Linked DNA regions of Homo sapiens: region 2 is linked to region 1. Evidence: promoter capture Hi-C in 16 types of primary human blood cells and fetal thymus (Javierre and others, 2016). All regions are on one chromosome and are shown on one strand. The core of a region is centred on a gene start or on the middle of the fragment in contact, and the rest is flanking DNA. Distances in the headings are between cores, read along the strand shown.

What was found. The method cuts DNA at HindIII sites, captures the fragments that hold promoters and counts their contacts. A CHiCAGO score of 5 or more calls a contact.
Region 2: the fragment with the promoter of DYRK3 here is called in contact with a fragment that was not itself captured in region 1 in 1 of 17 cell types (endothelial precursors); the score reaches 5.2 in endothelial precursors.

What each region holds. Positions count from the first base shown.
Region 1 is chr1:207,498,699-207,501,254 of GRCh38, reverse strand. All of the region lies in intron 1 of CR1 (complement C3b/C4b receptor 1 (Knops blood group)), which reads right to left. Among named protein-coding and RNA genes, the nearest start is that of CR1, 3.8 kb to the right of the region's middle. RefSeq lists an enhancer at 1,636-1,695. The HindIII fragment of the contact is 257 bases long and covers 1,141-1,397 here.
Region 2 is chr1:206,634,260-206,636,815 of GRCh38, reverse strand. DYRK3 (dual specificity tyrosine phosphorylation regulated kinase 3) reads right to left here and starts at 1,280. Exons shown (of 3, transcript NM_003582.4): 1 at 1,036-1,280. The coding sequence starts at 1,112. It overlaps DYRK3-AS1 (DYRK3 antisense RNA 1), which reads left to right and starts at 1,148. Exons shown (of 2, transcript NR_183645.1): 1 at 1,148-1,216; 2 at 1,833-2,556. RefSeq lists silencers at 841-950, 1,001-1,420. The HindIII fragment of the contact is 1,008 bases long and covers 973-1,980 here.

The DNA of each region.
Region 1 (2,556 bases), core at 20-2,519:
TAATCCATCCAAACATCCACTTCCTTCTCTAGGCAACCTTCAATGTGTTTTCTCTTACTACAGATTGATCTGACTTTCTAAAATTTCATATAACCCGAATCACTTCGTTTATATCCTATCATATAAAGGAAATAACTCAGGTGGTTTTCTCTTACTACAGATTGATTTGACTTTCTAAAATTTCATATAACCTAAATCACTTCATTTATATCCTATTGTATAAAGGAAATCACTCAGGTTTTTTTTTATGGTTTAGCCTTCACACAGCATAATTAGAGATCCATCTAGGTTGCTGCATGTATACAAATTGTTTCCTTTAGTTGCTGGGTAATATTCAATTGCATAAATATATCTTAATTTAGTTTATCCATTTACTTGTTGAGGGACATTTGGATTGTTTCCACGTGTTGGCTATTACAAACAAAACTGCTATGAAAATTCATGTACAAGTCTTTGTGTGGACATATGATTTCATTTCTCTTGGGTAAAAACCTAAGAGTAAAATGTTGAGTGTGTGTCTAAGGTTTTAAGAATCTGTTGAACTATTTTCTAAAGTTAATGTTATAATTTTACCTGCCAAATAGCAGTATATTATAATTCCAGTTACTCCACCTTATCGCCAACACTTGGCTCGGTCAATCTTTTTCATTTTAGTCATTCTAGTGGGTATGTATTGTTATCTCATTTCGGGTTTTGTCTTGTATGACTCAGCCCACTTTCACATTCTCCTGGTTCAGATATTCCATTCAAAGCAAGTTGATGTATTCTGTGCTATATGCACAATTAACACATCATCACTTTCATGTCTGTTGCAATATGAGCTGTCAACCCAAAGAACACTCTGCTTTCCATTCTGCATACTTACCCTTTAAGGAATAGATTTGCACTTGCTTTGCTTAGGCACCTCTATCAGTTTAAAAAAAGAGCATGCCCTTTCAAATATATAAATTTATAAATTATATATGTACACGAACATAAATTATATGCCTCAATATAAATTTTTGAAATGTAACACAGATAAAATAAATATTTTAAATGCTTTGTTAATCATCATGACTTAGCACAATCATTAGCTAACATCTAACGGGACAAAAAACAGTCACATTGAGTCTCTCTGTTCACAATAGTGAATGTAAAGCTTATTTCGACAGTCTTCATGATACTTTCTAGGTTTTTTGGTTTCATCGAGTTGTGATCAGTTGTGATTAGACTGACAGCATTTCTTCTACTTAATGCCTCTGACAAAAAATGTGTATACATGTGTCTTTGCGGAGAGGGTGAGAGGGATTGTCAACTCTACCATTTTCTTGTTTTCTGGAGTTGGTTTTATTACTGGGATCTTCACCCAGCATTTCTGTGTAGGACACTTTTGATGTTACCTGTCCAAATGTGAAGCTTATTTTAGATTAAAATAGATAATATAAATCACACATCCACTCATCTGAGCATATGTAAACCAAAATACACCACAAAGCACAGAAAGCAAATTGGAACTTCCCTTCTATCTTGCACCTTTACCTAGCAGGGATAACCAAACCAGATCCTATATGAGGACCACGTGAGGGCGCCAGAGTCCACCCTATATTAAACACTGCCTGGTAAAGCTTAATTCGTGTACTATTTTATGGCTCAGAATGTGGTCTATCCCCATGAATGTAAGCGGGAGAATATGTGCTCTGCTGTTGTGGATGAAGTCATCTATATATGTCAATTATACCCAAGTGGATTGATGGTGCTGTTGAATTCAAGTATGTCCTTACGGATTTTCTGCCTGCTGAATCTGCCCATTTCTGATAAGGAGACTTCAGCACCTTTTCTGATATCAGAAAGATATCATAGAAGTCTCCAACTATGATAGTAAATCCATCTATTTCTCCTTGCAGTTCTATGGGTTTTGCCTCACGTATTTTGTCTCTCCATCAGGTGCATACATATGGGATATTGTTACGTCTTCTTGGATAATTGGCCCCTTTATCATTATATGATGCCCCTCTTTATCCCTAATAATTTTTCTTGGTCTGAAGTCTGCTGTGTTTGAAATTAACACAGCTATTCCTGCTTTCTGTGACTAGCATTAGCATGGTATATCTTTATCCATTTACTTTTCATATATATTGTCTATATTTAAAACGGTCTTGTTGTACACAGTATATAGTTGGGTCTTGTTTCTTGATCCACTCTGATGATCTGTTTCAAATGGTGCATTTCGATCATTGACACTCAAAATGATTGTTGATATAGTTGCTTTAGTTTTGTTACTGGTTTTTATTTGTTGCTTTTTTTCTCTTGTTCTCTGTTTCTATTTTTTGTCTTCCATTCTTTTCCTGCCCTTTATTGTTTTTTGTTTTGTTTGTTTGTTTCTTTTTTTTTTTTTTTTGATTTGGAGTTGCGCTCTGTCACCCAGGCTGGAGTGCAATGGCACGATCTCGACTCACTGCAACCTCCGCCTCCCAGGTTCAAGCGATTCTCATGCCTCAGCCTCCCGAGTAGCTGGGACTACAGGCACCCACCATCATGCCCTGGTAATTTTTGTGTTTTTGTAGAGACAGGGTTTCA
Region 2 (2,556 bases), core at 31-2,530, 860 kb after region 1:
ATGTATTTCATCTGCTACCAAGAACACGGATTTCCCAGTTACACACATCAGCATTTCATTGTATCATTTTACATGATACACTATGAATATAACAATGATGATGTTGCAGAGGAATAATTTTTTAACGTCTTTTAAAATATCCTGGAATATTCTGGTCACCTTAAAAACTGTTTTGTGAAATTCATTCTAGAGTTTTCTTTATAGATGTGTTATAAAAATATAAAGGGAAAAAAACCGCTACAAATATTTTTGGAATGCTCTTTTTAAAAACATGCTCACATTCTGATAGAATTATTTATATTTTTAACAGGGAATGGCTTCACCAACAGAAACCAAATATTCTGGATGTGACTGACCCTTTGCCATAAGCCTGATAAAACAAACCAGGATAGGCGTCCACATATATAAAGAAAAAGAAAACGTGCAAAATTGCCTAGTGACTAACAGCCAGAGGAAATTAACAAGAGTCTGCATGCAAATAAAGCGGGGAGCAAGGGTCTCTTCTCTCCATTTAGGTGTAAAATACAACGCAAGGTGGGGAATCTCTCAAAATAGGATCCGGAGAAAGCCGTACCCAGCATAGCCCATAACCTGTACATTCGAAGCTAGACCGCACCCCTCACAGCAAACCCCAAGAGTTCAGCCGTTGGTTATCCGCTCTAAGCAACAGGGCTTCTTTCCAAGGTATTGCTCCCGGGCTCCCCCCCTTTAATAAAAAGCCCCACAAAAAGTCCTAGATTTTCGTAATCCCTTAACATATACCCCGATCTAGGGTTTCAGAGGGAATCCAGGGGTGGAAATTCTTCTTGCTCTAACTCCGCTCTAGCCCCGTCCCCCGCGCCCGGTGAGACAGGGATGGGGGGAGGGGGCCCTGATAGAGAGGAGGTGGGGGCGGTCCCGGGGAGGCAGTCAGACCCCTGCCCTCGTCCCTCCTACTGAGGGCTCACTCTACCTCCTCCCCACCCCCAAGCTTCGCTTGCCAGCGCCAGCCGCTCCCTGTGGCGCCTCCAGCCCGTTACCCCGTGGCGCCGTTACCTCCGCTGCTGGGGCGGGAGCCCGGCCCCAGGCGGCCCCGCATCCTTCCGCCCAGGCCCACGAGCTGTGCCTCCCATCTCCTAGCTCGGGACCCCGCGCGGGGAGAGGCGCCAGTTGGGGGTCCGGTCGGCCACGCCACCTACGCCGGGACGGCTGCCTCCGCGGCGCGACGCTCCCACGGGTACTCTCGACCAGACACTGCAGCTCAGCGCACTTTCGCTCCCGACTGGCCCCGGCTGGGAAGTGGGGAGACGCAGCTCCAGGGGCGGGAGGGGGAGCGGTCTGGTCGCCTAGCAACCGCGGCACGCCCCCGGGAAACGCCTCGGCGCAGCTACGGGCTGACGCACAGGGGCGGGGCCCGTGGCCGGTAAAGGCCACGCGGCGCTCCTAGCGGGTGCTAGTACTGGCGCGGGAGGCGGGAGGTTGGAGGCGAGGAGCTCGCGGCCTAGGCTGTTTGGGTCCCTGGCGCGAGCTGTAGACGGAGAGAGGGGTCCGGAGAAGGAGGGGTGAAAGTAGCAGTTAGCCCGCGATCTCAGAAGGGCTGCCCGCCCCTCACGGTCCCTTAATAGCACGTTGCGTCCTGGAAGTTCTAAAACGTCCCGCTTCAATATGAATTTTAAATTAGTGAAAACATATGTGTATTGTTTTAGGCTTTCCCACCGCGGGGACGGCCCTCCGGGGGTTGGTGAGTTACATAAGAAAGCAATAATAATAAACCCATTTATTGACACGATGCTTCCATTTATGAACATTTGATCTCAGTAACGGAGGTACCCGACGACTTTCGTCTTTTACAGACTTAGCTGGGATGCAGAATAGAAGCTGGGCCTTTGTCTGACTACCCTGCAACAGTCAGCCACAGACGGGAAGGCAGCGCAGGAAACTGAGGCCAAAGGAGCCGCGCTTCCTCATGAGCATGAAGCGGCAAAGCCTGAACTAGAAGCTTCTAACGCCTAACCGTCCTCTTGCCGCACCAGGACCTACCTCTGCAAGGCCCTTCCTGACTTTTTCCTTAGAATGTGTGTATATGTGTCTTTTTCCTTTTCTGATGCTAAGACACCTCAGAAACACCAATGTTAAGCAGATTTCCATCGTTGGAGGTTAAAACACCCGAATACAAGTGTTTTCTTGAGTGTGGCATCTGGTCAGATGTTTTATGGGTTGGTTTGTTTTTAAAAAAAAAAAATTTCCTGTTAGATGGGTGGTAAGAACCAGTCAGAGTTTGTAAACCCACCAAGCACGAGGCGGTCGGACCGTCCAGATTCTGGAGTCCAGAAGACACCAAACGTTCTCAGAATGCCGAACGCGGGCGCCACCTGGTGGGACTAGAACGCTTATTGTCCCAAATCAGCATAGCACACAGTTCCCATAAATCTTAAAAATTCCCATCCAAGGCTCATTTCCGTGTGACTAAAAGTCATATTCTCTGTTCTCGTGACTCCAAGTAAAAATGTCCCTAAAGAGCCAAAGTATCTTCACTGTATAAACTAATAATCTATTGGTTTGGGGAATTTTATTTTT